Regions from separate parts of the Homo sapiens genome. Here all the other regions are linked to region 1. The links are contacts of gene promoters, found by promoter capture Hi-C in blood cells and fetal thymus (Javierre and others, 2016). All regions are on one chromosome and are shown on one strand. Each heading gives the region's core, a stretch centred on a gene start or on the middle of the fragment in contact. The rest is flanking DNA. Distances are from core to core; before and after follow the strand shown.

The links. Contacts are between HindIII fragments. The CHiCAGO score rates a contact against its expected background, and 5 or more counts as called.
Region 2: a contact is called between a fragment that was not itself captured here and the fragment with the promoter of USP25 in region 1, in 1 of 17 cell types (neutrophils). The highest score is 6.6, in neutrophils.
Region 3: a fragment that was not itself captured here is called in contact with the fragment with the promoter of USP25 in region 1 in 2 of 17 cell types (non-activated CD4 T cells and neutrophils); the score reaches 6.7 in non-activated CD4 T cells.
Region 4: a contact is called between a fragment that was not itself captured here and the fragment with the promoter of USP25 in region 1, in 1 of 17 cell types (neutrophils). The highest score is 6.5, in neutrophils.
Region 5: a fragment that was not itself captured here is called in contact with the fragment with the promoter of USP25 in region 1 in 1 of 17 cell types (total CD8 T cells); the score reaches 5.3 in total CD8 T cells.
Region 6: a fragment that was not itself captured here is called in contact with the fragment with the promoter of USP25 in region 1 in 1 of 17 cell types (non-activated CD4 T cells); the score reaches 5.6 in non-activated CD4 T cells.
Region 7: a contact is called between a fragment that was not itself captured here and the fragment with the promoter of USP25 in region 1, in 1 of 17 cell types (neutrophils). The highest score is 7.2, in neutrophils.

Annotation. Positions count from the first base shown.
Region 1 is chr21:15,728,174-15,731,513 of GRCh38, forward strand. USP25 (ubiquitin specific peptidase 25) reads left to right here and starts at 1,809. Exons shown (of 26, transcript NM_001283041.3): 1 at 1,809-2,265. The coding sequence starts at 2,221. RefSeq lists a silencer at 1,414-2,373. The HindIII fragment of the contact is 4,884 bases long and covers 817-3,340 here.
Region 2 is chr21:14,472,185-14,475,524 of GRCh38, forward strand. No RefSeq gene overlaps it. Among named protein-coding and RNA genes, the nearest start is that of SAMSN1, 72 kb to the right of the region's middle. The HindIII fragment of the contact is 3,531 bases long and covers 1-3,288 here.
Region 3 is chr21:14,496,180-14,499,519 of GRCh38, forward strand. SAMSN1 (SAM domain, SH3 domain and nuclear localization signals 1) reads right to left here. Exons shown (of 8, transcript NM_022136.5): 7 at 2,263-2,413. The region is part of intron 1 of LOC124905053 (a long non-coding RNA gene); the gene reads left to right. Among named protein-coding and RNA genes, the nearest start is that of SAMSN1, 48 kb to the right of the region's middle. The HindIII fragment of the contact is 2,471 bases long and covers 517-2,987 here.
Region 4 is chr21:14,514,113-14,517,452 of GRCh38, forward strand. SAMSN1 (SAM domain, SH3 domain and nuclear localization signals 1) reads right to left here. Exons shown (of 8, transcript NM_022136.5): 3 at 2,780-2,929. All of the region lies in intron 1 of LOC124905053 (a long non-coding RNA gene), which reads left to right. Among named protein-coding and RNA genes, the nearest start is that of SAMSN1, 31 kb to the right of the region's middle. The HindIII fragment of the contact is 3,266 bases long and covers 50-3,315 here.
Region 5 is chr21:14,530,197-14,533,536 of GRCh38, forward strand. The region is part of intron 1 of SAMSN1 (SAM domain, SH3 domain and nuclear localization signals 1); the gene reads right to left. The region is part of intron 1 of LOC124905053 (a long non-coding RNA gene); the gene reads left to right. Among named protein-coding and RNA genes, the nearest start is that of SAMSN1, 14 kb to the right of the region's middle. The HindIII fragment of the contact is 804 bases long and covers 1,275-2,078 here.
Region 6 is chr21:14,584,565-14,587,904 of GRCh38, forward strand. SAMSN1-AS1 (SAMSN1 antisense RNA 1) reads left to right here. Exons shown (of 5, transcript NR_046512.2): 2 at 798-974. It also overlaps a transcript of SAMSN1 not described here. Among named protein-coding and RNA genes, the nearest start is that of SAMSN1-AS1, 4.0 kb to the left of the region's middle. The HindIII fragment of the contact is 1,651 bases long and covers 802-2,452 here.
Region 7 is chr21:14,607,196-14,610,535 of GRCh38, forward strand. It overlaps a transcript of SAMSN1 not described here. Among named protein-coding and RNA genes, the nearest start is that of SAMSN1-AS1, 27 kb to the left of the region's middle. The HindIII fragment of the contact is 9,758 bases long and covers 1-3,340 here.

The DNA.
Region 1 (3,340 bases), core at 559-3,058:
AGGAAACTTGAAATTTTCTTCTCAATGTTCTTCAGTACAACAGTTAAAAATATTTAAAGAAATGCTGAGTAAGTAGGAAACCCTCAGAAGTAAGCTGAAAATGAACAGTCTCAGTGGGCAAATAGGTCTACCATATAAAAGCTCTATTTGATGATTATCTATTGTAAGATCATCTTTTTTTTTCTGTATGGAAGTAACAAATTTAACTCAGAGAAAAGTTGTATTGCCAAATTCTTGAAATTAAACCTTAGTATCTGGCAACATTTTTCCTCCCATGGTACTAGATTACTAGATTTTTATGTTAAATTTAATTTTCTTGAATTCAAATGTATGAGCTTGATTTCTAAAAAACAAACAAACAAACCAAAAAACCAAAACCCTCATATGGAGAAACATGAAGTTAGCATATAAACAAGAAAAGAAGAAACTTTGATCTATAAATGAAGAAAAATGGGTTTTGATAAGCTCTCTTTGACAGGTCACCCTCCTTGGGCTTCAGAGTTATAAAAAAATCGATACGTGAGATTAGAGATGTGACAGTATTTCTAAATTTCTGTTTCCAACCGTTTCATGACTTTTCATTTCCTCTAGAAAAGACATAGGATATTAATATAATAAGATTTGCAATTTGTTAAATATCAAATGAGTCAACAAATATGAAGCTTCAAGGAAAAGGTGACAACAGGTGGTACCAGACATCTGAGCTGCAGAACAAAGATGGTTGTAAAGTGCACAGAACTGTTACAAAGCCTTAAGAGCTACTATAATCCATGATTATTAAATAACACCACATACTATTTCAATTAGCATTTGCCAAGCTTGCTTTCCTTGTCATTGGATTAAAAATTATACCCGGATTTTCAAGTGTATTCTATTTGTGACAATATGCATTGATAATTTCTCTCCTCACACTGCTGCACTCTCACCTCCGTTCCCAGATTAGCTCCTGGAACTCGAGATATTTTTGTGGCTAGAGATTGCTTTCTTAATGTTAGATTTTCCTTACAATTCCATATATAGTCAAGCATTCCATGCATGGTAGTTAATTGTTTGCTTAATTTGGCAACTGGGATATTAGAATTATGTATCATTAGGCAGTGATATTTTTGTAAGGTTGTTTGCTAGATAGATCCTATTTCATTTATATTAAGTCTTGGGAAGATAAACTTTATTTTTCCAGAGCCTAGCAGTGACTGACACATATTCGAATGAATGAAGGTAGATAGAAAATGTCTATATTCATTTACGTAATGATTAGTTAAGGAGAAAAGTACTTCCCAGCATAAAGATTTCTGGCAACCCTTTGCTTATTTGACTTTTCCCTTCAGGCAAGTTCAAGGCTTGTGAAATTCCTAGAAAGGCGAGGGGAGAGAACGCGTGACACAGAAAGGGGCCGGAGTTCGGGACCCTACGCAGTTTTGGGACGTTATGGGCATGGAGGGAAATGTTTGCTTTGGAGGCTTTGGGTAAGCTAGGGATCCGACAAGCCCTGGGCGCAGGGAGGAACGCTGCCCTCCGGCCTCCAGTCGCGCTCCCCGAAGCCCAGCGCCAGCGTCGCGCAACCTGCCGCAGGGGCGGCTCCCGGGCCAGGCAGCCAGGCGCGCCCTCGCCCCACCCGGGAACGCCAGGCCCGCGCAGGGAGGGGCGGGGCTCCATGGCGGCCCCGCCCCGCCGCCCGGAGGGTCACAATGTAGGGTTAGGGCGGCCGGCGGGCGGGGCTCTGCGGGGGAGGAGCCGCCGGGCGGGGGCGGGGATGGCGCGTGGGGGAGGGGAGGGAGGAGGACTCGCGGAGGGAGGAGGACAACGCCATTCCGGGCGGCCGCTCCCTCCGTCCCCTCTCTCCCTTCCCCAAAGCAGCCCGCGGACCGGCAGCAAAGGAACGTGCGAACGCGTGACGCCGCCCGACTGGCTCGCGCTCTCCCGTGCCCCGGCGTCCTCCGCCCGCTCATGGCCCGGGCCGCCGCGGACGAGCGGCGCTGAGGCGGGCCGCGTGGAGACGTGAGGCGGCCGCCGTGGCCCTCACAGTCGGCGTTTCGCCGCCTGCCCGCGGTGCCCGCGCACGCCGGCCGCCATCGCCTTCGCGCCTGGCTGGCGGGGGCGCTGTCCTCCCAGGCCGTCCGCGCCGCTCCCTGGAGCTCGGCGGAGCGCGGCAGCCAGGGCCGGCGGAGGCGCGAGGAGCCGGGCGCCACCGCCGCCGCCGCCGCCGCCGCCGCGGGGGCCATGACCGTGGAGCAGAACGTGCTGCAGCAGAGCGCGGCGCAGAAGGTGAGGCGAGTCCGCCAGCCGGCGGGCCCCACTTCTCCTTCCGACGGGCTGTCCTCTCCCGCTGCGGCCGGGCGCCCCGGCCTCGCCGCCGCCGCCTTCCCGGGCTTCCTCCCCGGTCACCCCCGGCCCCTGCCCATCGCCTCGGGGGCGTCGCGCCCAGAGCCCAGCTGCGTGTGGGAAGCAGAGTGTAGTTTGCGGGCTTCAATCCACTTCCTTCTGCCGATTGTTTTCCCGTAGCAGACGGTGCCAGGTATTGAGAGCGACCCTCACATTCCTACAGTGCTCTGTGTGGCATCTTAATGAAACTTTATTCTCTCCCCTTAAATGAGAAAGAATAGCTAGTTGTCATCCTTTCTGAACCGATTTTGTCTTTCAAAGGTAGTAGTGTACCAGGCCTGCTATTTTGCAAAACGGTCTCCACCAAAATCGAATTACCTGCCTCGCGGGGCAGGCGTGTTGACCAGGTGGACTCTAGAAGTAGGTGGTTTGCTTGGTTTCTTTTCCTTTTAAGGTTTCCCTTTCTTCTTCTTCTTTTCTGTTTTTTTTTTTTTTTTTTTTTTTTTCAATATAGAAACTGTCCCTAAGAGAGGAAACCTTTCTGGCCATGTTATTCCAGGAATCTTTTGTCCCCTAAGTTTGACCTTGTTCTTTCGTTCACCCTTTACTCTTGCATCAGTCACACATTCAAATGGTCACTCACTAAAGAAAACAATTAAAAAACTGTTTGTGAAACTTTATATCTTTAAAGTGAATAGAGATCATTCTGCTATTTTAGATTTTGCTTTCAGAATCTTAAGTGCACTATCATGGCTTGCACCATGTTCTGAAGAGTAGTTGGCCATGATTTAACTTCTTTTTTTAATTTTTAATTTGCGTGAAAAGCATTTTGGGCAAAAGAGTAAACCGTGCCTTAGTTGTGTTGGTATTACGGGGACAGTTAGGGTTTACTGTGATCAACCACCAGAGTTATGTTTGGTTTATCTGGGTGAGTAATGAATGCCCCACCCTGTTGTAGATTTGGTGTAGATTGCAATATTCTACCTGTGCTTGACTTTAGAATAAGACCTGTTCTAAA
Region 2 (3,340 bases), core at 273-2,772, 1.3 Mb before region 1:
TTAAAATGGGAGGCAGCTTTGAAATTATTGAAGAAAAGATAGATTTTTATTATAGTAATTTATATGATGTCTAATTCATGTCTCAGAAATGCACTTATAAATAATCCTTAAATTACATCTTTCACTTATATTTGAAGAATTTTTGGCTTTTTTCAGAGGAAAACTATCCTACACCTCTTACAGCACAGTAAATAAAACATTTATAAAGGTAGGTAGTAAAAAAGGGACAGTCTAGAAAAATCTATATAAATCAGGATCCTGAGAGTTCTTTTTAAGATTGAGGATGAGAAGTAATTTTTCTCATTAAAGTCCCTTGTGTGAATAAAATAGTTCAATATTTTATAAATATTTAATAAATTATTATTTCCTACAACTTATGAGTGTTTGGACAATTGAAGCTATGTTTGGAATATGAGTATATGTCTGTCTATGTGGGGAAGAGATGATGATAAATGCCTGACACTATGTGTCTTGAAAAAGACTAGGCAAAAGAATTTCTAAGTTTTACAGAAGGCAGAAAGGATGCTTAGTGGGATTCTTTATGGTACAAATTTGAAAGTGCCTGATGGAAGTGCTTCTTCATGCTTAAATCTTAAAAGTATTAATAATAATATTATATGATACAAATAATGAGCTGGGCAGAGGTAAAATCTTGCAGAAATCATACTAGATGCTTTACTTGTTTAAGTTTCCCAACAACACTGCAATGTGGACATTAACCTCCCCTTTACATTTGAATAAACTGGATCTTAGATGCTTAAGAACCTGAAGCAAATAAGTGTTGAAACTAAGCATGATCCCAAATCCCTCACACGCCAAACTTTACGTTCTTGTATTGCATCATGTTGATTTCCTGTGCTGAGGAAAAAGTTATTTTTCCTTTTACTATCTATAATATAAGTAGTTATTTGCATACTGGTTCTGGCACTGTCTTACACAGGACGTTCCAATAACTGCCAGTCACATAGCGACGATTATGCTTGATTAAGCAGATCCAGTAAGTACTTGATCGACTTTTTCCCATAAATGCTGACATTCTGCAGCCAAAGGGAGAATAACACTTGCCATTATTCTGAGCACTCTGTGCATCTCCCCTCGTCCCTCCCAATAATACCTGGCCCTGAATTTCCTAAGATCAATGTTCCCAGATTATTAGACTCAGCCCAGATTCCAGGGTTTCCATCAAATTCTTCCTGGGTAATTTGAGATTTTGAGTTCTATAAGTACTACAGGCAGACAGGTGACAATTTGTGAGATTTGAGGGTATGTTCAGCAGGTATCATTGTTGCTATTGGTCATTCTATCCCAGATAATTCATTGTTAGCAATGTTGAAGTCCTCACAGTGCTCCAGAATCCTCTAGAAATACATAGGAAAGAGTGCTTTCAAAATTGTTAATGCATACTATTATAAGAATATAAATATCCCCACAAGATAACCTGATAGCTATTGGCTAGCACATTGTTTTATAGTCTGCTGATTGGATGACTTCAGCCGTTTCTCAAAAGGTGGCCCAAGGTTCCTGTGTATCAGAATTGCTTGACAATTTTGATACCCCTCTGGGCCCTATCCCCCTGCCTCAGATTATCATACCCTCTAACTTAGAGTATTAGAGGAATATAAGTAGCTTAATGTAATAAAGTTTAATTTTATGTAGCACTCAAATGGGGGTCAAGCAACATTCCCGAATGCTTTCCTCTAAAAATGACCCAGGGATTTGAGCTCTTCCTTTGGTGGGCTCCCCGTTTCAGTGTTCCTTGCTTGCAGCCATATAGATGAAGAGATGAAGGTAGCCAAAGAAAGAGTAAGGAAAACCTAATGAGAGGAGGACATGAATCTCAAAGCAGATATTATGAGTCAGGCCCTACCATTGACGTGAACTGATTACAAGGACCCAGCTGAATGCAAGAGGGCTGGGAATATACCCAAGAGGCTAATAAACATGGTTTGGGGAACACATAGCATTTTCTCTGCTTCGTAAGTTATGTGAGTAAGGCTGATTAGAATGGAGAAAAGCAAAGTCAAGTAAGCATGCCACGTTTTGATTGAAATGGAATTTTAATGGGTACCCAACAATGCCTTTATAGTTAATATAAGCCTGTGTAAAGAAGATGTGATCATAATGTGACTTTTAGGCAGGTTGTTTTCATTTCCATACATCTGCATTATGGTCTTTGGGAAAATTCACATGGGAACTGTTGATAAGGAATATCTGAAATCAGGGCCAGCTTCATGTAACCTGTGTTGTTGCACAGGGCTGTGCTCTCACAAAGGTCCACATTTGGCTTAATGCTCTGCTATTGTATTGCTGTCTTAAAATTCTTAATCATTTTGAACAAGAGGTTGTGCATTTTCATTTTGCACTGGATCCTTTTTCTAAGCACTCAGGCTGTCTCCCATTACATAGCTGGTCCTACCTGAAACTTGTGCCTTATCAGTGATTAAAATTAAGGCTTCAAGGATAAAATGAAGACATAGTCTTTAAGATGCAGTCAATGCTAATTGATCTTTTAGAGAAGACAAGTTACAATAATAAAGTTCCAAGGGTGGGGGTGTGGGCTCACACAGGTGCATGTGAACATGGGCCTGTGCAAAGTTTATTAGGAGCAATTTGTTTTAATTGATATTCATTGGGCATCATTCCACTGTTTATTCTTACCTACTCATGTGAAGAGTTGGTTGATGTCAATTGCACAAACATTTGTTTCAGAGAAATGGGTGTTTCAGTTGGATAAATTTTAATTAAGTAACCTTTACTGTACAAGTAGTTGCTTTTGAAGCCAGGAGAAAAATGACTATAATTTATTAATTCTATAATCCAGAATCTGAAGATATTGAATCTTGTCTACTCTAACCTTGAATATAATTTTCACTATGAATGTCCTAAATATCTGGCCACAAGAATAAGGAATACAAAACATTTCCAATGTATTGTTAAATTCTTCTCCTATTGCAAATGCCTAGGCATTTAATTATTAATTAAATAATTTAATTTATTTATTATTATAAATTTATTAATATAAATTAAATAATAATTTAATTATTCTCAAGCTCATATATACAGGACTTGATTGCTGATGCTGGTAAGCAAAGTAGCCAAAAGTCTTGAATTTCCAGATCATTTGGTTCTGAAATAATTTATTTGTGATTGCTGCTTCCACACCACTTGTATACATTACTACTGTAGTATATCACATTTCATAGGGATGTATTTATTTATACATATGCCAAAGGACCACACTGAACTCTTAATTCCTTGAGAACAGGTGCTGTATCTTATTTTTCCCAAAGCTTAGCAGATTTACCAGGTACCTAGAACATATTCAATGAAGAGTTGATGA
Region 3 (3,340 bases), core at 502-3,001, 1.2 Mb before region 1:
ACTGAATCAAAGCCCTTGAGAAAATTGGTGAAGTAGCAGAAAACTTCAATTTTCAAATATTCATTGCTTTCATATTGGCCAATTTGCACATGTGGAGGAGTTTTACAGCAGACTCCCTTTGATTAAATCTCCATCTCTGCACTCATCTAGCTGTTCGACTTCTTTGAAATTCATCTCCAAATTTTTGCCTCATCTGCAAATTGGGCAAAATACCTAGATGTGTGCTATTATGGAAGAAAAGCAATCATTTACAAGTGTTCAAAAAATACTCTTCTCCTCCCTGTACTTCATGGTCAAATCATTTTGGAGAGTATTGGCAATGACACTGGACATTGTCCATAATAAAACTCTATAGAATCTACTTCTAAGCCAAACATTGTTTAGTGAGGAGCCACGTCTTGAAATGACAAGATGTGAATGAAACTGACTCCTTTACCTGAACGAACTTACTATATCTGTTTACACTGATCAATTTTGTCTTGACTTGAAATATTGATTAGATTGGCTACTTTCTGAAGCTTGAACTTTGTCTGCCTCTGTGACCACATCTCCCTCTCTTTTGCATCTCCCAGCCTCACAACTTCAAAGAAAGCATATAATAACCTAGGCCTGATGATGAAATCAGTTCTGCTGATGTCAAATTAGTTATGCCTGTGAAAGCTCTTGGAAAAGGATGATAAGAATAAAGTAAAAACCAGTTTCTTAAAAAGTAAACTACTTTTCACTAGATAAAAAGCCAGTGTATAGGAAACGTGTGCTCTACCTCAGTTTTGTGGGACTTATGAGAGAGAGTATAGAATAGCCCACAAAAGGACAATCAGGAGGCCTGGTCCCTAAATAACGCTTTCCTCCCTCCTCACTCTCCATCTGGGCTGTTACTTGTAGTGTTAGAAAGTATAACACAGCAGCACATACATTGGGTTGGAATCCTAACTCTACACTTCACTAAGGGAGTGTTCTTAGACAAGTTACTTGCTGTCTTAACTCATCATAAAAATGAGGGCGGTAGTGTCTAACTCAAAGAACTGGGGTAAGTACTCAAGAGAATAATCAGGAAAGACCCTGGCCCAGAGTCTTGCTCAGAGCACATATGTTTTAAAAATGTAGTTAATAATTACTAGTATTATTTTTACTGCTGGGTGCGGTGGCTCACGCTTGTAATCCCAGCACTTTGAGAGGCCAAGATGGGCGGATCACTTAAGATCAGGAGTTCGAGACCAGGCTGGCCAATATGGTGAAACCCCATCTCTACTAAAAATACAAAAATTAGCCGGGTGTGGTGGCATGCCTATAATCTCAGCTACTCGGAGGCTGAGGCATGAGAATCGCTTCAACCTGGGAGGCGGAGGTCGCGGTGAGCCGAGATCGCACCGCTGCGCTCCACCCGGGACAGCAGATTTAGACACCATCTCAAAAACTAATAATATTAATACTAGTAATTATTATTAGTAGTAGTATTTTTTGATAGAGAAGGCTGGATTTGATTATCTAAGTTCCTTTTTATCTTTAAAGTTAGACTTTCCCCTTTTGGTTGCTCACAAAATACTCCTTGCAGAGTTTGGCAAACCCTAACGTCAGTGTTTGGGGGCCTGACCGGATTTGGCAGGAAAGGCAGTCTGGATGGATAATTATAAAAAATAAAAGCTATCCTATCTTTACAAGCCTGGTTGCTGTAGACAATATTCTGTAAATCTCCAAGATTATTTCATCTTCAGTTAATACTTACAAATACAGAGAACCATCTCAGATAATAAAAGTGAGTGCTGAATATTTTTGCAAGCTATTATAACATTTTGAAAGAGTACTATAAACATGTACAAGATGTGACTATGTGGTCATAAAATGAGTTTTCCTGTGTGCCATGAAGGCTCATTATCTTAAAGCCTCGTGTTGTTCTACAGAAGCCATGTGTGACATTTCGCACTAATGGCTTATGCTGTTACTAAATACTTGTCTCTAACTCCCTCAGTCTTTGGGAATGCAGGCATCCACTTGCATGTAAATTAATAGCTTTGCAGAGTGGAAATGAGGTACCCAGAAAAGTCCTTTCATTTCCTGAGTCCAATAAGGAAATAAGTTCCTTTTCCTAATTACATATTTGACCAGAGTTATTGTTTTCAAACTTATATGAAAATACCTATTTTATGGGAAAGCGTGCTTTCATGATCTCAGTAAATAAAACTGGGGCTTTGTTTCTAATGATTATACTATTTACATTAAACTGATTATCAGCTGGGGAGAAGAGTAGGTGTACACACTTACTTTCTTCTTCAAGGAAGTTTTCAGCAGCTGATAGTAACCTTCTTCTGTCATCTGGGTTTTCAATATTTAATTCAATGAGGTGACTCTCTTTTATATCTTTTAAATCTTCTAGAGTCTCATAACCATTGAGCAAAAGTGTTGAGGTGTATTCCTGTAAGACAAAAAATATAAAGCAAATTAGTCAGATTCAAATATTTTATTTTTAGTTCTCTTTAGATTTAAAGAAAGTATAGAGATGCACATGGGGACCAAAGGTGCCAATAGAACTTTTACTTAACTTCACTTGTATTCGTTTCTGACATATGAACTCCAGGGCTCTTAAATGATTATGTTGTATAATTCTCGCCTTTTGGAAGGCCAAATGTAAAGAAGAAATAATTACCTTAAGCTATACAATTCCAAATCATGGATAAATTAAATAGTTGGATCATGCATCCCATTTGGAAATGTTTCACTTCTCAACTAACTAAATTGACAGAACTAGCATTACTTTAAGTCTATCAATAAAATGCCTCTAGCAGAGTAGCATGCTACAGCAATATTTCAGAATCTACATCTCTTCTTGTTTTCATGATTGCAAAAGCATCTACTCTCAAAACATTCTTGGGGTAGGTTAAAAAATGAGTTTGAAACAGATGTAATTCTATACAAAAAAGTGGGTGTAGCATTTTGATTGAAAGGCATTATGTAAACCAAAAGAATTGGAGACTTTCTATTTAATTGGAAGCTTTTACTAAGCATAGAAGCACTGTAGTTGGGGAAAGAATTGTTTTCTCAGCATGTATATTTTGTCCGTCATTTGAATCAATATGTATTAGTTTAAAATTCATAGGTTTCCGATTTCAAAGTCTGTATGTTATTTTGAAACCTCTATCCTCTCAAACAAAATAAAAATATTAAGTGAAGTTGAGTGCTTTTTCAACTTCTTCAGATTCCTCCTATTTTACTTGCTCTAATTTCAATATCCTTATTTTAATTACTAAAATAGAATAAGAGGAAGTCTAAAAGTTTTAAGTAATCAGGGAGAACTTATGACCACCCCTTTTTAACAAAAAAAAAAAAAAAAAGGAAGAAAAGC
Region 4 (3,340 bases), core at 433-2,932, 1.2 Mb before region 1:
TCCTGTAATGGAAAACTTTAGTATAAGAATCCTCCATCAATCTGACCAAAGCTTTCTCAGTATTCTGCTGAAGTATGAGACTCTCTCTACCTGATTCTTCTTCCTTTTCCTCATCCTTTTACAGATGTCAGATTTACGTTGCAGTCTAAAGGCTTTCTCTTTAGCCTTCCTAGCATTTCCTGTCATAAATCTGTGGTGTTTCTACTCTTTTTCTTGGGATCTAGAATGAACACACCAAGTAAAGAGGTTCACTATGAAGACACTGAAATTTTAACCATGACCTGATTTCCACTTGTCAGAGATATTTCTGGCTTTCATATGGAGAATAAATTTTATGGGGGAAAGAATAAAAAGAATGGAAAGCAATTAGGGGATTATGATAGTAATCCAGGAAAGAAAGGTTGGTTATTTAGTCTAAAGCAGGAATAGTTTACATGGAGAAATTAGGGAGTTTATATATACGTGGTAATACAATTCAGAGAATTTACTGATGAATTAGTGTGAAAAGTGAGAAAAAGAAGGAATTTAGGGTGATTCTTAGATTTTCTTTTCTTCCTATTTTTTATATTTTTGTTTTTATTTATTTTGGGGATCAGTGTTGTCTGCTGCCACTGGGAATACTGGATGAGAAAACCATTTTTTTTGTAAAAGTGTAGAGAATAAATATATTAGCTTTGGATATATTAGGTTTTGGATGTCTACTGGACATCTAAATGAAGATATCAAATAAGCAATTGATTGTATTAATATAGCAGATAAGTGAAGAGGTCATAGCTAGAGATATAGTTGTGAAAAACAAAATCATGAGAGTAGATGAGCTGACTTAAGGGGAGAATGTAGATTCAATGGAGCATCCAGGAACAAGCCTCAGGAAGATGTTTCAAGGGATGAGAAAGAAAGCAGAGCCAAGAAAGGAAGCTATGAGGAAGAAGAAATGCCAGAAGCATGCCTAGTCAAAAAAAAACAAGAAAAGTGGATGTTTTATATGTAAGGAAATCAGCACTTGGGTCAAATACAGTTGAAAAGTAGTAAGGAGAAAGAAAAGTGACCATTGGACCTGGCAACACAGAGGTCACTACTGACGGCGACAGCTATTTTAATGGAGTACTGGAGACAGAGCCCTGTTGAAGTGGATTGAAAAAGAGAATGGACATAAGACATAAAAATCAATAAAGTAGAATTGGGAGTCCATAAGTAAACTCACTTATTTATGATCCATATATTTATGACAATATATTTATGGTCAATTGATTTTTAACAAGAGTACCGAGACAATCAAATAGGAAAAGAATAGTCTTTTCAACAAATAGTGTAAGGACAACTATATATCTACATGCAAAAGAATGAAGGTGGACTCTTCCTATATACTGTACAGTAAAATTATCTTGAAATAAATGATACACCAAAATTTAAGAGACTATTGGCCTCTTAGAAGAAAACATGGGAATAAATCTTCATTACATTAGATTAGACAATGGTTTGTTAAATATGTTACCAAAAGCACAAGTGACCAAAAAAAGATAATTGGACTACAATAAAATTAGGAACATTTGTGCTACAAACAACACCATCAAGAAAATAAAAATACAATCCACAGAATTGGAGAAAATATATTATATTGCATGTCATATATCTGATAAAAAACTTGCATCCAGAATATATAAAAAACATTTAAAACTCAACAATAAGAAGATAAATAACCCAATTAAAAACGAACAATGGATTTGAAAAACACTTCTCCACAAAGATAGATAAATGGCTAAAAAGCACATGAAAAGATTCTTGACATTATTAGTCATCAGGGAAACGTAAAGTACAACCAAATGTAAATCAAAATCACAATGAGATTCCACCTCACATCCACTAGGATGGCTAGTATTAAAAAGACAGACAATAACAAGTGTTGGCAATGATGCAGAGAAATTGGAACCCTCATACATTGTTGATGGGAATGTCAAATGACACACCTGCTTAAAAAAACAATTTGCCAGTTTCTCTATTAGACATGGAGTTACTATATATCCAAGAGAAATGAAAAAATATTTCCACACAAAAATTGAACAGAAGTATCTGTAGCAGCATTATTCATAATAGCCAAAAAGTGAAAGCAACCCAAGTAATCACTAAGTGATAAATGGATAAAGTAAATGTGATCCATCTATAAAAGGAGAAATATTATTTGGCAATAAAAAGGAATGAAGTACTGATACTTGCTACTAAATTAATGACATGTTGTTCTTCACATTGTTCTTCGCATCACATTCTAGATGCATGATCTTTTTTTTTGTTTTGTTTTTTGAGACGCCATCTTGCTCTGTTGCCAGGCTGAAGTTCAGTGGTGCAATCAGGGCTCACTGGAACCCCCGCCTCCCGGGTTCAAGCGATTCTCCTTCCTCAGCCTCCTGAGTAGCTAGGACTACAGGCGTGCACCACCATGCTCAGCTAATTTTTGTATTTTTAGTAGAGACGGGGTTTCACCATGTTGGCCAGGCTGGTCTTGAACTCCTGACTTCAGGTGATCTTCCCGCCACGGCCTCCAAAGTGCTCGGATTACAGGTGTGAGCCACTGCACCCAGCAGATGCATGATCTTTCTGAGTGTCAGTTTCTTCTGTTAAAATGAAAGTAATACTTCCTTCCACCCAAGTTCTGGGCATAATGACTGAGGAAGAAAACAAATGCTTAAGTACTTCATAAAGTACCAAGCACTTCTATAGTCTAGCTGAATAGTTTAAGAAAGTTTTAGTAGAAAAATACAAATGATTATCAGAGAATATTTACCTTTTCCTCAGAAAGGGCTTTGATGTACTTTTTACCCACTTTTTTCTTCATTGTCCATGAAATAGCTCTCATTTTTTTACCCAAACCGCCTCCATTATTTGAAGTTTTACTTTGTTCTCCACTTCCATTTGTGGGATCTCCTTCATGTGCCTAGTTTAGAATTGTTTACAAAAGACAAAATAATAAAGCAATAAAAAACATTGATCTGAAATCACTGTTACAGAGAACATTCTGAGTTTGTGGATTTTGCATGCATTCTGTGCAGCAGCCTCCAAAATTTCTAACAATCCGGACATAACACATATTTTTAAAGTTGTCCAGCCCTGGTTGCTTGTGTTACGAACTCAGAAAGTAAAATTCGTGATGTTAAAGGACTTGAGCCTCACATCTGCAACTCTTTTAGAGAATTTTGACTATTTTTTAAATAGCTGTATTGAAGAATCATTTTATTCCCTCTTCTTGAGATGAACAAATAATATTAAACACCAGGTATAAGGAGTTCTTATGTCTACATAGATGAGAAATATTTTATTGGAAGCTTTAGATAGGCTGTAGCATCTA
Region 5 (3,340 bases), core at 427-2,926, 1.2 Mb before region 1:
GTCCCAGCTACTTGGGAGGCTGAGGCAGGAGAATGGCGTGAACCTGGGAGGCGGAGCTTGCAGTGAGCCGAGATTGAGCCAATGCGCTCCAGCCTGGGCAACAGAGCGAGACTCCGTCTCAAAAAAAAAAAAAAAAAAAAGAAAGAAATAATCACCAAATCCGAAGATTGTGATTGCTAAAGTTATGATAAGTAAGAAAGGTAGTGGAACATATGCTATGTATAAGATGGATCACTGGATGATAAAAAATGTGTCTAGTATCTAATATAATTCTCTCCCAAACTTTCATAGGAGAGAAATAAATACTGTCTCTAGTAAACATAATCATTTAGGTCACTATAAAAATATTTTTTATTTGTTATAGGGATATTTCACTGGGATTTTTCATTGTCTGGATGAACTATCTCTTGAAACTAAAACTGACAAAAAGTTTTCAACTCATGCACCAGCATGGATAGTTGGTCGATGTTTCATGAAGAGCTGTGTTGAGAAGCGTTCTAAAGCCATTTTCAGAGTTAAAAAGTCATGATTAACTGTGTCCACAGTGGTTACAGAAGATAGTGGGTGTTTAGGGGAAGAAGAGAGGAACTGCATTTGCCACCTCTACTCAAATTATTTCCCTGAGCAAATTTTGCATTACTAATTTTGTTATCTAGGTACCTTGATACAGGGAGGGCAATTCAAAAGATGGATGACTGAAATTTTCAATTTACAAAAAATATACATTATTCTTCCATAAGTTTGGAAATTAACTGTCTTTTCTATGCATATTTTATTTTTCTATTTATTATAGAATATTAAATAATATTTTAACTAGTCACATCATTTTCAACTATTTTAATTCTATAACTAAACAAAAACAAATAATTCTACAAATAAATAATTCTGCCTAAATAATACTGCTGTATAGGATATGGCAAATAGACAAAAGGTAATATTGAAGATGATGGTTTAAAAAAGCAACTATTAGTTAAGAGAAGAATAACTTCGAATATTGATCTCAATAGACCTTACTACATTAACCATAAACTTAAATACCAAATTTATTCTGGTTTTTGTAATAAGTGACTGATTTTTCTATTTGTTGTACTGTTAATAAGATTTATCATATGTATTTTGTATAGTGTCATTAATCTAAAAGACAAACTATTAAAAGTATAAAAGAGAAATTATGTCTATTCAATTTTATCATCAAAGGAGTTAAAAAAGAAAACCCAAGAGTAACATTATTAGCTAAGTTAAATTGAGCAATTTCTTTCAGGATCTTAGATGTAAGCTTTTTTTTTTCTTTTCAATAATCAGAGAGAGGAAATCTCAAAAATTTTTTATTATCTAACATGATGGAAGAATGTGCAGTACTTTTAAGCCCCAAAACTTTTAAACATACGTGATAATTGAGTATGCTAACAAAACTTTAGTTTCCTGAAATATTTCCTAACAGTTTACCCATCTCATCTTTACACTAGTAAATTCCAGTCACTCCAGATTTTAAAATAAAATAAAATTATCACCAAGAGGCAAACATTTATAGTACTCATTACTTTGAAATTATGGTTAAATAAAGATGTAAAAATTAAGTTGGGAAAACAAAATCCTTTTAACCAAATTTCCTATCAAATTATCTGGAACAAAAACTCCCTTTTACTTCCATTAGTCTTAAAAGTCCTCTGCATTCACTTGGCCTCTGGGTACACAGTAACCTTTCTAAAGGTCTGCCCAAGGGATATTTTAGTCATTCTGTGATCTCCTTGAACACAAGTAATGACAAACAATAAGCTAATTCTCAAAAAGTTTTTTTTTGAGTCATTTTTACTACTTTTAAATGAGTGTGTCTGATGCATGATTTTGGGCCCCCTGATTAATGGTCACCGCCAGCCCAGCTTCTGGAGTTGTAATGTTTCCGTGAGCTTCCCTCCAGCAGAGCTCGACCATTAATCCAGTGGCATATGTCAGCTCAGCAGAGCAAGGTCACTCTTCTGTTTCAAGGGGAACCTTTTTAGAAATAATAAAACTGACAGAAAGTTCTTTTTTGCATGCTTTATGCCACCTGAGGTTGAGTGCTGCAGTTAATATCATAAAGCTTATAAACATTCCCATCCCAGGAAGCACCCACTGCTGCTGGTCTTAGGAATTTAAACACTTTTTTTCTTAGTAAGAACAGACATGTTTATGTGGGGGCAAATATATGGTATGTCATCCCAAATAGAGGAAGAATGGGTGGGAAAATAAAACAGTAAGTTCATGTTAGGAAGTTTGGAAGAGATGTTAGTGTCCTATAACTATTTTTATTGTCAATTACATTTATTTACCTTTTAGAAAACTGGGATTTGGTTAGATGAATACTTCAATCTCCTGAGGGGGTTAATAGCAGAGTTGAAATATAAGAGTAGTGGTAAAAAGAAACTCAGTTTATAATCACTCCTTGACCTATAATGTAATGTTCAATAATTGTAGAACATTTATCTTTGAAGGAACTGTATTTTTAAAGTTATAAACATTTGTTTTATTGGTAATGACTTTTTCATAATTGATAATTAAATACAGTGAGATAGTCATAATCTTAAAGTAATTTGAAATTTTTAGATGTCCTAACATACAAATCAAACAAAAGATAAAAGATGATTGCTATGTAATAACTTACAATATAAAGAAACTATAATCATAAGTATTACAAAATGTACATATTTAATATTTTATTACTTTTATTATTTATTTATTTATTTATTTATTGAGACAGGGTCTCTTGCTCCAGGGTTGCCAAGACTGGAGTGCGGTGATGTGATCATAGCTCACTGTAACCTTGAACTCCTAGGCTCCAGCAATCTCCTGCTTCAGCTTCTTGAGTAGCTGGGACTACACATGTGCACCACCATGCTCAGCTAACTTTTATTTTTTTTATTTTTTGTAGAGACAAAGTCTCACTATGTTGCCCAGGCTGGTCTTGAACTCCTGTCAAGCAATCCTCCCACTTCAGCCTCCCAAAGCATTGGGATTACAGGTGTGAGCCACCATGCCCAGCCACTCTTATTTAATTAAAAATAGCAGTAGCATAACTGTAACCACGTAAAGTATTCAGGGGAAAAAAAACCCCAGAAAATTCCAATTTGCTCTTTTTAACCAAATACTGAGACGAATGCCATATCACTATGTAGATTTTGATACAAGGTAAATTTGACTTGACTCTTACTCCAGGAGTTTAAGCTGTTAAAACTATAAAAAATATAATAAAGAAACTTAGTTATTTAATTGTATTCATTTTCCTTTTGTAGAGAAAATGTACCTGGAAGTGAAGCCAGTTAGCAACTTAGCTCAATCCTTTTAGGAAGACAATACATTGGTC
Region 6 (3,340 bases), core at 377-2,876, 1.1 Mb before region 1:
AAATTAACTCTTTGTGTGCTAAGTTTTATAGGAATTGATAAAAATCATTGTGTTCTGTTGAATTCACTAGATGTGATGTAATACATATAGGAATACTTTTTCATCCAGAAAGTTCTAGACTCAGAAATATTTCTCCACCTGCTTTTGTCTCATTCTTTCCATTGAACAGCTGATAAATAGCATCTACAAAGACACTGCAGTTTTCAAGAGGTGAATATTTGCTTCCTCATTAATGTTTGAATGAGACATATTTATAATAATGCTTTCCAATCCTTTTAAGGAGACTATAAGCCCAAATAAATGTTTGGAAGTAAAGGATATCTGACATGCAACATTTCCAATCTTTATACTCAGCTGTTATCTTTGTTCTTTAAGAATGACTTTGCACAACCAGTATAAACTTGTTGATCTGTCTCTGCAAAATAGCACTTACGTAGGAAATGTGACGTTTTTGTCAGAGGAACCCTACCTTTTTGCATTAAATAAGTGGGAAAATATTGAAATCATTTTAATCTTTCAGAAAGGACTGTGATGAGATATGCTTAGAAGCACAAAATCTTCCCTCTCTTTCCAAAGGCCATGCTCTGCTCAACACAATTTCTATTGCTGTTTATTTTTTTGTATTATTTCTCAGTGTTTCTTTTAGTGCTTTCTGAGTTACTTGATTTTATAGACCCTTTACAACTCAGGAAAGGCCATTTTCTACTCTTTAGACCCTTTCAGAAATAATAAGATGACATTGCACAACCATTTTTTCTTTGTTGTGCTTCTATTCTTATGGCAACTTCTTGTTACAGCCAAAGCTTAATTGCTCCACTGAAACACTGGCAACAAAAATCGTCTTCTCTTCTCCCTTTGTGAAAAAGGCTTTCACTTAATGTGGAGAAAGGTATTATATACCAGGGAAATGGAACTTTGTATAAATGATTTTCCCCCAAGAGGAACTAAAGCATTTGGAAGGTATCTGAATTCAGGTAAGTAAGATCTCATGTCCTAGAGGTTTTAAAACAAACTGACCTTTCATTATTTTGTTCACATTCTATTGTAGCCTTTTTAAAGCATGATATTGTTAATTTTTGTATCTTTATTCACTTTGAGTTACTGGACATCAGTCTACTGCATTTTATTTATTTTTAAAAATCCTATGTGCCTAGGATTGTACATGGCTTAATAAATATGTACTGAATGTAAATACAATCCTAATTTTATACATGTTTTATATACAAAATGGAGTATCCATAGTACATGTTTGATACTAGACTCATTACTTTCTAGTAGCAAATTATTTCTGGACAACCTCCTCTTGTTAATAGGTACTATATATCCAAGGGATGAAATTTAGAGTTAATATTATTATAAAAGGTATAGAATCATTACAACTATGTATTAAAAAGAAAATGTATTCAGATTAAAAATACAGCCAGGTGCAGCAGCTCATGCCTGTAATCCCAGCACTTTGGGAGGCTGAGGTGGGCGGATCATGAGGTCAGGAGATGGAGACCATCCTGGCCAACATGGTGAAACCCTGTTTCTACTAAAAATACAAAAATCAGCTGGGTGTGGTGGCATGCACCTGTGATCCCAGCTACTTGGGAGGCTGAGGCAGGAGAATTGCTTGAACCCGGGAGGCAGAGATTGCAGTGAGCCGAGATCGCACCACTGAACTCCAGCCTGGGTGACAGAACGAGACTCCATCTCAAAAAAAAAAAAAAAAGAAAAAGAAAAAAAAAGAAAAATCCTCAAATATTTTTCAAATAATAACCCTATTTATCTCAATTCTCTTATCCATTACCTACATATTTGTACTGAATGTGATTGATTAAGTTTTATAGTAACATACCTTTTAAATTTTAAATGTGTTCTAAGAAGATTAACCCATAAATTAAACCTAGCATTCAACAAATCAATAAACTTTTATTTGAGCACCTAGTAAATGCCAAGCACTATCTCACATTCTGGGGATATGGCATAGAGGAAGTAATATGAGATCACAGTTTTTATCAAGTCTAATTCTAGAGGGAGGTGACAGGCGATAAACATATAAACAAGTATATAAACATAAGAATGTGACATAAGAAATGCTGTATTAATAATTAACAGGGTGATTAGTGAGGATGCAAAAAGAGGGTTTATTAATATACTGATCAGGAGGAGCTTCACTGAAGATACTAAAGCTGAGGCCTGAATGATGAGAAGGAACCAGATATGTGAAGATTTAGAGAGGGTTTAGAATTCAGCAGATGGTCAGAAAGAATATTTCACCTGAGACTTGCATTGGAGAAAAAGTCAGCCAGGCAAGTAGCAGAGAGAAGAGAAGTCTTGGAACACAATACAGTTTGCAAAGGTTCTAAAGCTGGAATTTCTGGAAGAATGCTTAGTATGTGCCCATGAAGGGAAAGAAAGGAAGAGTACCAAGAGATGAGCCCAGAGAATAACAGAGATCCTTCCAGGAAGCTTCTGTAGAGCAGGTTGAAGAATATGGAATATCTAATCAGAGGGTGATACAACTTGGTTTACAGTTTTGTTCTTCTCTCTCTACTGAATTTTGATTTTCCATTTCAATGGACTCTTCCCAATAGCATTCAAATGTGCTTCATGTTATTCATCTTTACTTCACCATCTTTTATTTACCACTTTTTCTATTCTTCTTTGATCCTAGGCATTTGTATCAAAAATGTGAACTATGTATGCTTCCTTTAATTCTATTAACTTCTCATCCTTTTAATCTATCTCATCTATCAGCTTTCATCTCTACCATTCCCTTTTAATTGTCATTTTGATCTAATGAGCCATTCTTAAACTCCTTTACTATTTGATATTCAGCAATGTTGACCACAGTGACCTTCTGGAAACACTCTCTTTTCTTGGCTTCTGTGACACCATGTTCCTCTGATTTTCCTTTTGCCTTTTTTGGCCCTTCCCTCTATAACTCCTATATGCTGACACCTTCCTTTTCTTGAAATTAAATTTTGAAATTACTTAAGGATTAACCCTGGCCTTTTATCTGATATCACCACCATTCTCTTCTCATGTGCATGCATGCACACATACCACTTTTAATATCACTTATATGCTAATGACTCCCAATTTATTTCTTTCCCCAGGCCTCTCTGCAGAGCTTCAGACTCACATATCCAACTATGTATTTAAAACAATTTTTTTGTTGTTTTATCCATCACCTTATTTATTTATTTATTTATTTTTTAAATTTTTTTTATTACACTTTAAGTTTTAGGGTACATGTGCACATTGTGCAGGTTAGTTACATATGTATACATGTGCCATGCTGGTGCGCTGCATTAGGTATATCTCCCAATGCTATCCCTCCCCCCTCCCCCCA
Region 7 (3,340 bases), core at 424-2,923, 1.1 Mb before region 1:
CACTGAACTCCACAGACTGCCTATCCTCAGGCACAGGAAACTACTCTTAAGTAGTTATGCAATTAACAGCTAAAAAGGAGTGTTTAAAATGAGAAAGAAATATTTTAGGTTGATACATAGGTCACTAATTACTTAGAAATACTCTGAGCCTTCCAAATGAAACCACTATACCCATAAAATTTGAGCCTACAACTTGTGGTCTTGAATTTCTCCCTTCAATTTATAATGTTACAGACAGCCTTGGTCTCTGGCCATCAACTCTTCCTAGCATGGCATTAATTTCTAGGAAATGTCCAGTGACTCAACTGCTACTACTGAAATGTCTGCTGAGGTTCTTGGACACACACATGCACACGCACTCGCTGAACATGCATGGTCACTCAAGACCCTGAGAAATATCAAAGCTGGGAAAAATTCTGTAAAGCCTTTCTTTCTTCCTTCTCTGACAAAGCAACCAGAAGTAACTCATCTAAGGTCAGGATTCTTTGCTGCTTTTTCAGTGTAGCTATAATAGAATTCCGTGCCTATTATTCCCAAATTAACAAAACAAAACAAAAACATACATAAGAGAAAGGTAGTTTTAGGAAATAGAATGCTTGAAGAAATTTATGGAAAAATTTACATCTAAAATAATCTGTAACACCATTATACCTTCTTTATCCATAGATCAACATACAATAATCTAAAATACAACATGTGCTTATAGAAGGATTAATAGATAAATGGAATGGCGGATGAATAGAGAAACTGATAGACAAATGTTTGATTAACTGACTGAAGGTGTGGATGCATATAGCTGGCATCCATGTGGTAAAGACAGAGTCCAATCCAAACATGATAGAGAGGGAAGTGGAGCAAAGTGGCTGAATAGAACCCTCAGTAATCATCCCTCTCACAGGAATACCAACTTGAATGGCTATTCACACAAGAGAGCACCTCCATAAGTAACTAAAAATGAGGTGAGTGATCACAATACCTGGTTCTAACATCATATCCTTGAAAGAGCCACTAAAAAAAGTAGGAAAGGTGGTTTTGGATTGCTGACTCCACCCTCCTCCTCTATCTCCTGGTAGCATCCTCATGGTGCTGAGAGAGAATATTTGTGCTTGGGGAAGGGAGAGCAAAGTTATTGTGGGACTTTGCATTGACCTCAGTGCTGTTTCTCACAGTGGAAAGCAACACAGGGCAAAATTCAGCTGTCCACTACAGGGGGAGCATATAGACTTGCCCCCACATTCTGACTAGCCCCTCCACAGTGGGCTGAAGCACTTTGGGGTCCTAAGTAAACTTGAAAGGCAGTCCAGACAACAGGGCCTGAAATTCCTGGGCAATTCCTGGTGCTGTGCTGGGCTCAAAGCCAGTGGAACTGAGGTGCACATGATCTAGTAAGATATCAGCAGGAGTGGCCAAAGGGATGCTTTCATCACCCCTTTCCCAATCCCAGGCAGCACAGCTTGCAGCCTCGGGAGAGACTCCTTCCTTCTGCATAAGGAGAGGACACAGGAGAGTGAAAGGACTTTGTCTTGCAGCCACAGTAGAATAGGGCACTAGGCAAACTCCTAAGGTTCCCAATCCATTCTTCACTCCCAGGTGAAATTTCTAGACTCTTGAATCATCAATAGCTAAAATAATCAATTTTTTTCTCATTCCAATAACACTTGGGGGTGAATACCAAGCAGATCAACTTTTGATACGGTTTTTCATCTTTGTAAACTCTTAAGACTTTCTGTTTTATTACTTGCCTTCCCAAAGTTAAGTACTTTTAATTATGAAATTACATACTATTAATATGTTATTCTATACCTGACTCCTAATTTGCTCTCCTGGAAATTTTTACATTATAAAATGACTCCATTTTATATTCATAATCAAGGTTATTTCTCTTAAATTTTTTAAGAAGACTTAAACATAACTATTAACATATCAATGTTATCTTTAGAGAGTTTTCTCGTGCTCTAATTTTTAATATATTTTCAAATTTTTTGTACATTAAAACTTTCAGTTTTCTTTTCAATTGCTTATTTGCTTCAGCAGGCAACTTAACCAGATTCCACTTCCTTTCTGTACATGTGTCTATGTGATATATATACACATATATATATGTATACATGTATATATTAATAGTTTATAATAATGCATATTCTATTCTATCTTATTTGGTTTTCCTTTTTAAGTAGACCATAATGGTCTGCTTATTTTCATGGTGGAAGATGTGAATTTTTCTTACCTGCCCTTTAAACTACTTTGGGAAAATGCAAAGTCAGCTGAACTAAATTTAGCAATTACCTTTTAGCTGACAGGGCCTTCTGATGTGGGAATCATTCTTATGCTTGCTGTGTTCCTGCCAGATTTTGTCATTCACAGTTTTTCCTTCTAAAGTGAAGCAGATAATTGGTTAGCAGAATTCATAGTAACATTTGTCCAGTAAGTATAAGACATTTGAAATCAAAACAAGTTCAGCACAGGATTTGCAACTTGGTAAGTGGTATCTTAAGAGAGCTCTAGTTCTAGGTGATGCAGGAAGTCAGGGACCCCGAACGGAGGGACCGGCTGAAGCCATGGCAGAAGAACATAAATTGTGAAGATTTCATGGACATTTATTAGTTCCCCAAATTAATACTTTTATAATTTCTTACACCTGGCCTGTCTTTACTGCAATCTCTGAACATAAATTGTGAAGATTTCATAGACACTTATCACTTCCCCAATCAATATTCTTGTGATTTCCTATGCCTGTCTTTACTTTAATCTCTTAATCCTGTCATCTTCATAAGGTGAGGATGTATGTCGCCTCAGAACCCTGTGATGATTGTGTTAACTGCACAAATTGTTTGTAGAGCATGTGTGTTTGAACAATATCAAATCTGGGCACCTTAAGAACAGGATAACAGCAATTTTCTGGGAACAAGGGAGATAACCTTAAAGTCTGGCTGCCTGTGGGCCGGGCATGATGGAGCCATATTTCTCTTATTACCAAAAATGGATAAGAGAAATATCGCTGAATTCTTTCCCCAGTAAGGAATATTAATAATTAACAGCCCTGGGAAAAGAACGCATTCCCAGGGCGGGGCCTCTAAAATGGCCACCCTAGGAGTGTCTGCCTTATGTAGCTATGGATAGGGATGAAACATGCCCTAGTCTCCTGCAGTGCCCCCAGGCTTGCTAGGATTAGGAAATTCCAGCCTGGTGAATTCTAGTCAGACTGGTTCTCTGCTCTTGAACCGTGACAATGCATGCACATCAGGACATGGAAGTTCATTAGTGATTCTAGTTTCACCCTTAACTTCTGCCTTGTGATCTTTTGTCGCCCTTGAAGCATGTGATCTCTGTGACCCACACC